Regions from separate parts of the Homo sapiens genome. Here region 2 is linked to region 1. The links are contacts of gene promoters, found by promoter capture Hi-C in blood cells and fetal thymus (Javierre and others, 2016). All regions are on one chromosome and are shown on one strand. The core of a region is centred on a gene start or on the middle of the fragment in contact, and the rest is flanking DNA. Distances in the headings are between cores, read along the strand shown. Region 1 holds the start of ALDH4A1 (aldehyde dehydrogenase 4 family member A1). Region 2 holds the start of RCC2 (regulator of chromosome condensation 2).

Region 1 (4,890 bases), core at 1,899-4,398:
TGGGCTTGGCACAAGAAATAAGGAACAGAAGTGAACTCTTATAAGCCTACTACATGCCTGGGCTGGCTATTAATCTGTATCCTGCCTGTTTCCAAAGAGAACTGAGGATACTGATGGTAAAGTTGATTGAGAAAAAAACAGGAAGTCAGGGTTAAAGGAGGAAAGAGACAGTCAGTTGGGAGGCCTGGTGTTCACCAGCTCAAGGCCTCGGACAAGTTTTCCTTAATTTCCATGGGCCTCAGTTGTTTAATCTGTGAAATGGGGGTGGTAACCCCTACATCATAGGTTGCTGAGAGGCTGAGTAAAATAATCCACATGAAAAGTAAATGGCAGTCATTGTCACCAGCTGCCATCCCTGGGCCCACCTATAAAGGCCACACTTTATGGTGATTGTCCTGAGGCTGGCCGTGATAAATATCGATTGACAAGGAAGGGCTCACATGATTAGTTCATTCATTCCCTAAATGTTTGCCAAGGGCTTACCAGGTGCCAGACACAGTTCCAGGGCCTGGGAACATACTGTAAGGCAGACAAGTGTATAAAGGGAAAAAACAAGCTACAATAAAGTATGGGCAGATGAGCTTGTTTCTATGAGGTTTTTTTTAAAAGCATATCTATTCATGGAAAGTTAAAGGACATGAATCAAAATGTTAACAGTGGGTACCTCTGTGTGGTACAATTCCAGGTGATTTTTCTATTTTTTTGCCTTATCTGTACTTTTCACAGTTGACATGTATTAAACTAAAAGAAAACATGTATCAAGGGTATTTTTTAAAACTAGCAGAGATTCCTGGCACTCAAGGCAAAAAAGAAAACACTAAGAAGCATCTCCTATACCCGTTCCTCAAAAGCAGCGGTTTTTCTCAGGACTAGAGTTTTACACGTAGGACACTGAGGGATGTCACTGAAAATGCCCTGCGACTGTTTCTCCATAAATGCAGACATGGCATGTCACGGGTGTGCTCTAAATGTTCACTGAGTAAATGAACAAGTGATCAAACATCAAAGCTGTTCCTCTAGAGCACTGGCTCTCAACCGGAGGTGACTTTTGTCCCCCAGGTAACATCTGACAATGTCTGGGAACTTGTGTTTCCTGTCAGGGCCAGGGTTTTTTTCGTAATTGTCAGGGCCGGGGGTGCCCCTGACATGCAGCGGGTAAAGGCCAGAGACGCTGCTAAACATTCTACAGTGCACAGGACAGACTCCACAGCAACCAAAATGTAGCCCCAAATGCGAATAGTGGTGAGGTTGAGAAATCCTGTCTAGGGCATGCGGCCAGCTGCTGTATCAAAGGGGTAACTTGAGCCCAGGGAACCAGCTGCAAAATGCTCTTTCTCTTTCCCCTCTCAATTCAGGAGGCCTCATAATTCAGAGCATAAATCTGGATTTAGACCAAATGTAATTTCAGTCATATATCTCTGATGGCAGATCGTTTCCCATGATAATACAGGAATGAGACAGTACTTACCGGCTCGGTGTTAGGCCCATGGTGCTTGATTGCTTGATAATCATTATTGTTATCATGGGCTTATCTTTTAGAATATGGATTGCTTTCTACTAGATATTGGAGGGTTTTCCTATGCATTTCTCCCCTATTAAGCCGAAAACTCCTCAAAGGCCCCACCCCATGTAAATTCCCTGGGTACCCCTCATCTCTAGGGTGTTTGGCAGAGCACCAGCTCACAGTAGGCACTCAGTAAACACAGGACTCTATAAGCTCCATCTTCCTGAGTCTCAGAGTGCAGGGAAGGCCTGCAAACGGGATCACACAGGGAGTATGGCAAGTGTGGCCCCAGTCTCAGCCTAGAAGAGGAACCCCTCTGTCCCATGTCCTCTTCCTGCGCCCTTTCCTATCCCCTCTTCACCCACAGAGGACACACAGCAGTGTTGCAACTCACTTGTGCTCAGAGCACCACCATGCCATCCCTTGGGGGAAGGGAGAGGGCCACTGATTAACTCAGAAAGGGCACAGCTCATCAGGAAAGACACTGCCACTAACAGCCCCAGGGGTCAAGCAAACAAACCTCAAATGGGAGGGGGGGCTGATCCACAGGTGGGCAGCCCCACCAGACTAGGAACCCCTCTGGGGCAGGGTCTGTGTCCCACCTACCTCTCCAAACCTAGCTCCGAGCTGGAGGGGCTCTGAGAATATTTGTCATTGAGTGGGCAAGGGTCCAGGCACCTGGCTCCACAATGTCAGGTTTGCAAATCGGGATTTGAAGGGCAGGTCCACCCCTGAACTGCTCCTGGGTTTCTTCATTATTTGGAATAATGACCTGCCTCACAGGAGTGAGAAGTTTAAATAGAGGTGATAATGATGATGATCGTGGCAATAATAATAACCGGGCGCTGCCTTTGTGCTGGGCACTGTTCAGTGCACTCCCCATGTATTAACTCATTTAATCCTCATAAGACACCTGCCAATTGCCCGGCCAGCATTTGGTTCATTATAAGCACTCTATAAATATGATTATTCCACCTACAAGAAGAAAGGAATCCTTTTTTCTGTCCAACATTTAACTTGAAAAAAAAAAAAAAAAACGGGCGGCGGGGTGTGTGGGGAGCGGAAAAGAGAGAGGTAGAAATCCTGGTAGAAGGAGAGGACTCGGGGAATCCGGGGCGGGATGGGGACACTGAACGTGAGACGAGGGTGGGGAAGTGAGATGTGTGGTGTGCTAAAAATAGAAGGGCCCCTCAGGGGAAGCCAGCAAATTGCGAAGATCCAGTATTAGGAGTGAGGTGAGTGACTACAGAGGCTACTTTCCGAGCGTGGGAACCGGCAGGGCCACCGAGGCACCCTACTCGGTCGCAGGATTCGGGAAGAGGGGTCCCCTCGCTAAAGGAAGGTGACTACCTGAGGGAGGAGGCTAAGGGATCTCAGTGGGAGAAAGGCCTGGGTGGGGGTCGGAGGGGAGCCCCTGAGGAACCCGGCGTTGACCGAGGCAGCTTGGGGGTCCGGCAGGGAGGGAGTGCGGCGCGGGGGACGCCCAGTGACTCTCAGGCTCCCGGGCCCCAGGCGCGCGCTCGGGCCGCCCCGGGCCCCGTGCTCACTCACCCGGCCCCGGTCCAGGGGCGGGACAGCAGGGCGCGGCGGAGCGCGGGCGCCGGCAGCAGCATCTCGGGTTAGAAGCGGGGCTGTTCGCTGGATCGTCCGCCCGGGCGCGGCGAGAATGCACAACCCCGTCCAGAGCGCACCACCTCGATCCTCGGGGGGAAACGGATCACCCCGGCTGTCCTCCGAGCTCGGGATCAGCCAAAGTCCCACTATATTTAGCTTCGGCTAATAAAAAATATTTCTAGTGCCATAACGGGGGCATTACACAACACAGGACAAGGGAACCCGAAAGCGAAGTCCTGAAATGCATGCGTTTTCCCCTCCTCTCTTTATGGTATGACCCGGGAGAGAGGGCGTGAACTCTGTCGACCAGTCAGAGTGACACACCAAAGCTTCTGAACCAATCAGCGGGGCGGTCCTGCGGCAGCCTTCCAAAGCGGAGCAGAGAGGGGCTGAATAGAGCCAATGAGATAACCGAAATGGGACACGTGCTGAAGCGGGGCAGAAGGACTCGCTGCGTCCGGCCCTCTGGCGTGCGCCCCGGGTTCGATGGGAGTCCGACTGACTTCTCTCGGGCTGCCGGTGGCTTGTACAAGGCTGGAAACCTGTCCGCTACCAGACTCCTCGACCCCGCAGGGCCACAGCGCGGCCAGCCCCCTGCTTCTTCCCGGGGGCTGCGGCCCCTGGAATGAGCCTGCCTTCCAGCTTCTTGGCCAGGACCCAGCCGCTCTCCACCTACCCTCCAGGCGCGGGGCCGGCCAGCTTCTTAGCTTCCTTGCAGATTACGATCAATGCAAGATAAAACCTGAGCTGGCCAACGCTTAGCTTTTCATTTAAAGCCTTTGGCCGCAAAACCAGTTGTTCCTGAGCCTTTTACCCCCAAGTAAAAATTTCAGCTTTCTTTGCAAAATGTTGTGTGCTTGGTAAACACTAGAATGCTATTTAAAACTTGGATTCTGAAGTCTTCTCTGATGACGAGGTCTCAGGGACCCAATCTATTCCTAAAGTAATGTTACGTTTCCTTACTCTCTGTTCTAATTTGTTTATATTTCTTCCAGCAGCATGAACCGCGCACCTGCTTAGGAGTCAGTTCCCATGCTGATTTTGGTTCCTCAAGCAGGGCACTAGGCAGACTACATATCCTTTCCGGGCCTCAGTTTCCTCATCTGTAAAACGGAAGTAATAGTACCCAACTCACAAAGCCCCCGTGATCTTAAGCCACTTATTTTTCTCCAGATTACACCATTTGAGGTACTTTGGGAGAATGTAAACATTTAAATGAAGAGTAGGAGAGGGAGATTACCTAAATGCCAAGTATTAGGAATGGCAAAAAGCAAATTGGAATTGGTGGCGGCTATTTGTCTTCACCTTTGGAGAAAACCCTAGACAGGTGGGCTCAGTTCACATTTGGGCAATGTTGCCCTGAACATGCCCATTGACAAGAAAAACTAGAACATTGGTTACTGTCAAATCCAGAGCCTGGGAAGGTGACCTCCTGTGGGCACGTTGGAGAGCCTGGAAAAATGGGGGCTTTGTGGTTAAAAGGACATCAGTTCCAAACCAGGCCAAGCCAGTTACTGAGCCTGTGATGTCTCATGTCCTCTCTTCCCCTTCAGTAAAATGTGTGTAATGATTCCTGCTTTGTCATCTTCCAAAGCTTTTATTGTGAGCTACAAATGTAACAGGTGATATGAAATCCCCTATTTTATGGCTAATTAACTAATGAGTTTGAGGGTTTCTGTGGCCTTCCGTCCTCCTACCCCTCCCCCAACACCAGATTCATCTTCTGTTTAAAAACAAAAACAAAAAAAAGCACCATCAGTTCTAAGACATTT
Region 2 (4,971 bases), core at 2,169-4,668, 1.5 Mb before region 1:
AAACCTCTCCGGGTGTCAGGCTCTACACCCCAGGTGGAAGTTCTTGCTCTCTGGGGGTTATCTGAGAATCTGGTGAAAACTTAGACCCTCTTCTGAAAAACATATCCCACACCACACCAAACTTAAAGAAAGTTCTGTGGGGGTGGGGAGATGCTGTGGCGGCAGATGCCGGGTTCAGATCTCCGGCTCTGCAGGCTTTTTCGGGAACGTTAACTTGAGTCAGCCACGACCTTAATTAAGATTTGAGAAAACAGAAGCCCGCCCAGGACCCTAGGAGATGCTTCTTCACTTGGGGGGGCTACAACAGAGCCCTCGCGAGCATCCTGCAGCTTCGGACCACCGGCGGCAAACAAAGCCCGAGCACCGCTCAGCCGGGGGGCTTCCCCGACCTCGGGGGAGGGCTCTGCGGAGCATGCGCGGCGGCCGTCAGGCCCCGCCCCCCCCGGGCGCCGGAGCCGAGGCGGCGGGAACCTCAAAGCCCCGGCGCAAACGGCCGCTCCCCGCAGAGCGCCGGCCGCCCCCTCCCCGCGGCGCCCGGGCGCAGCGGCGGCCACGGACGTGTGGGGCCCGCTGGCCGCCCCCTCTTCCAGGCCGGGCGAACTTACCGAGGTCCCCTTTCCCGGGGCGGGGGGGGAGGGGCGCAGAGGGAGCTGTGGGGGCGGGGCCATGACCCCCTCGTGCGGGCTTCGGCCGCCCCTCCCCCGCCGCGGGCCCGGGCGCGCGCCCCAACCGCCAACCGCCCGCGCGGTGCCCGGGGTCGGGTAGGCCGCGGGCCGCGCGCCCCGTACCGAGCCCTTTTGTTGCGCGGAGGCGGAGGCAATGATTCAGCCCGCGGCCTGCGCCGGCCCGGCCGCCGGGAGGGAGCGTGACGCGAGGCGGCCCCCGGCTGGAACGCGCGCCGTGCCGCGTCGCTGAGCCCGCCGGCCCCGGCCCTGCGCCCACCCGTCTACCCTGACCCTCACTCACGACGCGCTCCTTGGTGTGCTCGGGTTCGGTGATGACCACGGCCGCGCCGCCCGCCTTGCCTGCTGTCGCCGGCCGCGCCGCGCGCTTGCCCCCGCCGGGGGCCCCGTCGAGCTCCAGGCCGTCCTCGTCGCCGCTGCTGCCGCCGCCGCTGCTGCTACTGCAGCGCTCGGGCCGCTCGCGCTTCCTGCCCGCCGGGCCGCCGCGTTTCCTGGGCCCGGCGCGGGCAGTGCCGTTGCCCGAGCTCGGCTCCTCCCAGGCCGCCGCCGCCGCCTTCTTCCTGGGCATGGTCGCGGCTGGAGGGAGACACGGGGCAGCGGCGCACAATGGACGGGTTATAAACTGCGCGGGGGGAGGGGAGCGGAGACGAGCCACCCGGCCTCCACTTCCTCCTCTGCCCTCCCCAAAGTGGCGGCCGCAGGGTGGGCGGAGAGGGGGCGAGTTGGGAGAGGAAATCGCGCCCCTCCCTGGCCCCGGCGCGGCTCCTTCGGGGAATCCCGCAGGGCAGCCGGGAGCCCCAGAGGCAATCCCCTGGAGGGAGAATTGAGACCCCCGGCCTATCCGTAAGTTAGGTTTGCCCACAAAGCATCACAGTTGCAACCTCGCCCCCCAAAAGTAAAGGGAAAGTAAAACCAGCCTCCAGTCCCCTAGATTTTCATTAAAGAAGGCTTCGGGACACTTCCAGGATTCCCCCTTGGCACCTGGGTGGTAAGGGAGCCCCTGCTCCCCGGCTACCCCACCTGCTGCTTTTGTCTCCGCAGTCTCCCCCCAAACCCACTCATGGCATTTAATGCAACGCTCTCCCCCACCCCGCATCAGCCCTGGACCCCCGTTCGGCCCCAGCTCAGGGGTGCCGACCTCGGGCTCTAGTTAGCCGAATCCCTACGGCGGACTGCCCCCGGCGACGGGGGAAGAGCCCGAAGAAAGCTGGACCCCAGCCCCAAACACCTGCTCGCACAGACACGAAAAATAAAAACTTTAATGGTGCCCAACTCTCTCCCAGCCCCCTTGCCGGCCGTGCGGCCCGGCCGGTCTCCGATTCGACTGCAAAGTGTCCAGGGCCGCCGCCAGCTCCCCGGCGTCCCTGCGCTCTCCCCTGTCTGCTTTTTTTTTTTTTTTTAATTGATTTTGAACAATGGGATCTCTGTCTGTCTCCGATTAAACCACGTGGATCCGCCTTCCTTCCTCTTTTTATTCCTTCAATCACCCAGCCCCCCTCCCCCAGGTTTTTTTTTAACCTTTTCTCTTTAAAAAAAGGAAAAAAAAAAAAACTTTCCCAGACCCCACAAACTGATCACTGTCGATTTTCAGACCCTACCTGGTTGGAGTGATGAGAAACCGGAGAGAAAAAAGGAAGAGAAGCAACTAAAAGACGGATCGGAGGGCTTTTTTTTTTCCGGCCCAGACGAGGGCTCCAGCCCACTCACCAGATACACTTAAAATGTAAATACGAGCTTCCAGAACAAATGCTACAACACAAAACAGAAACACATGTGCGGCCGCGCGGCAAGCGAGCGCGCGGCGGGGCGGGAGGCGCGGGGCGCGGGGCGCGCGCGCCCCCTGCCGGCCGGCGGACCCGTTGCCGGCGCCCCCGCCCCGCCCGGCCTGGCCCTGCCCTGCCCACCCGAGCCTGCGCCGCGCGCCGCGCGCCTCGCCGCCCGCCTCGGCTCCGCTGCTCCTGCGCCTTTCGCGGGCCCGCGAGCGCGCTTTGGGCCTTCCACGCAGTGCGGCCTGCGCGTCAGGGACTTCTTTGCGGCTTAGGAGGATGTTGGATTGTTTTTCCTGGGCACGTCTAGACAGGTCACATGAGGACACTCGCTGGAAAATAGTTACTTCGCTCACGCAGCAGCCAACAAGGGACGTGCCCTAATTGAGTGATTGGAATGAAAGATGAATACAATTTGAATAATTTTTTCCTGTGCAGAGAGAAGCTGAGTTTTATTTGCCTGTGGATGTGTCCTCAGTATGTAACAAGGTGCTGTGACACGGAAGAATCACATAAAGGTTTGCTGTATTAGTGAATTAATTCATAATTAATTTGAGGGCCGTGGAGGCACTGGAAGCTGGCTTTGAGGGGAACTTTTTCATTTTTTGCCAAATATTTACTGAGCCCCCGGTACATGCAAGACCCACAGTGCCCGGGGCTGCAGAGCCAGTGAACAAGGTTTCCACCCCAGTGGAACGCACAGCCTAACGGAAAGACAGATCAGTAAACAAGTAATTACAACAGTGGTAAGCTTTACAAAGTGATGCCTGTGTAGGAACATTATGGCGAGGGGATTTATCCTAGTCCAGGGCCAGGGAAGGCATTCAGGTGGAAAGTTATGCTGAACAACTTAAAGGATGAATAAGACCCGATGAAAGGGGGCAGGAAAAGTATTCCAGGCCAGGTGGAGTGAACGGGACGCTCCACATTTCGAGATCTTGAGAGACACCTCCTGGGAGGGAAGCTGTCTGGTGGGGCTGGGGTGAGAAGAGCCAAGAGGCTGGGTTCTGAGGAGGTAGGCAGGGGTGCGAGGGCCTGCATAGACCCTAGTGAACCGCAGTGAGGCTTGATCTCGTTCGCGTGTCCTGGGACGGGTGAAAAAAGCCTTGCTTGCTTCCTACCGGTCTCCACCCTCCACCTCTCCACCCCACTTCCATTACGATCTCACCGTCACTTGCTCTCCTCTCAAAGCTTTTCTCCTGCTTCTTTTTTCCTGAGGCGTACCGCACAAGGAAGTTCCTTCTTCAGGCAACTTCTTGAAAACGCATAAAGTTCTAGGATTTTTGTGATTCATTCATTCATTGTTAGTGCAAGAAACAGGACTGGGAAGCATCAAGTGTCCTGTAAAGGAAGACAGAGAAACCAAGAGGCCCAAATCTAAGGTATTTGATCAAAGTCAAAAGTCTGTGTGTCAAGAGAGCTGAGAGTGCTTATGTAAAAGAACTTTGGAAATGAGAAATCAACTGGTACGTTTCAGAGATTTTCAGAAAAGTCAAGATGGAATAGAAGCACCCTTTGAAAGCCTATTCTTAATAGACCTGCATTTAAAAAGATTTTTTAGAGGTTAAACTTTGACGCTTTGATATAAAGCATAAGTAGAACCAACCAGAAAAGAATTTCGCCTAAATATGCCATCAAGTCCCCTTCAGGAAATGGCATGCTGATGCTTGTCAGCCGAGGCGGGTGGCTGGGTGTTTATCCTCTAAACACCCTGTGTGGCCAATTAGGAACACCACTGACAGTACCTTTAGATTTCAGTCTGCAAGTCTTTTCCTTTTTTCTCCTGCCCCTTTATAATGCTTTTTGCCAGCTTAAAAGACTCATGCCTCAGACACACTGATGCAATGAGACGCTAATATCATATTGCATCATCTGATCCTAGGTGTGGTGCTCCTGAAACTGGTTTTTCTTGAGGTTATGCTGCAGTAGAAAAGCACTTTGGGTATAACACCCTGGAACTGGCCCTACTTGTCAGAAGACAAAAGTAATTTTTGCAACTCCATGCCTCAATTCCACACCACTATTCTCCCAGGGAAAGCCTGCGTGACTCTCCCGGCTGGAATTGGGTGTGCAACAGACATTCATCAGTTAGGCGTGTCATGCTGCCACTTATGTAACAAATGTTACATAGTGAGGTGCACCTACAGGCAAGCTGAAAATGACACTTCCTCCTTCAAACTGTGCTTGGAATTTCACCTCGCTTCTAATTGAGCAAATTCTCCAGGGACAGGATGGTTTGGTGCAAAACCGGGAGAGGGGAAGGGAAAGAAGGTGGCTGAGATTTCTCTGACACTTTGAGGCACAGGTGTCTGGCACTGTGCTGAGCATTTTACACCCAGAATTTTGGAAATGTGGCTGCAAGTGCCAGCCTGCCGTCACTCTTTAACCTCATCTTCAGCAAAATCATATTGCAAGTTAGATTCAGCTACGCTTAAGTTCTTTTCCAGGGGTGAGGTGTGATTTTTTCTTTCTTTTTTTTTTTTTTTTTTTTATTTTTTTAGATAGAATCTTGCTCCTCCAGC

The links. Contacts are between HindIII fragments. The CHiCAGO score rates a contact against its expected background, and 5 or more counts as called.
Region 2: a contact is called between a fragment that was not itself captured here and the fragment with the promoter of ALDH4A1 in region 1, in 3 of 17 cell types (fetal thymus, endothelial precursors and erythroblasts). The highest score is 6.3, in fetal thymus.

Annotation. Positions count from the first base shown.
Region 1 is chr1:18,899,407-18,904,296 of GRCh38, forward strand. ALDH4A1 (aldehyde dehydrogenase 4 family member A1) reads right to left here and starts at 3,149. Exons shown (of 15, transcript NM_003748.4): 1 at 3,056-3,149. The coding sequence starts at 3,117. It overlaps LOC124903866 (a long non-coding RNA gene), which reads left to right and starts at 2,707. Exons shown (of 2, transcript XR_007065519.1): 1 at 2,707-2,846; 2 at 3,404-3,965. IFFO2 (intermediate filament family orphan 2) reads right to left here. Exons shown (of 9, transcript NM_001136265.2): 9 at 4,874-4,890. RefSeq lists a silencer at 2,916-3,135 and enhancers at 3,216-3,445, 3,385-4,202. The HindIII fragment of the contact is 9,883 bases long and covers 1-3,445 here.
Region 2 is chr1:17,437,264-17,442,234 of GRCh38, forward strand. It overlaps RCC2 (regulator of chromosome condensation 2), which reads right to left and starts at 2,414. Exons shown (of 13, transcript NM_018715.4): 1 at 2,282-2,414; 2 at 967-1,259. The coding sequence starts at 1,251. LOC124903862 (a long non-coding RNA gene) reads right to left here and starts at 4,280. Exons shown (of 2, transcript XR_007065508.1): 1 at 4,195-4,280; 2 at 2,873-3,790. RefSeq lists silencers at 1,095-1,194, 2,514-2,653. The HindIII fragment of the contact is 440 bases long and covers 3,199-3,638 here.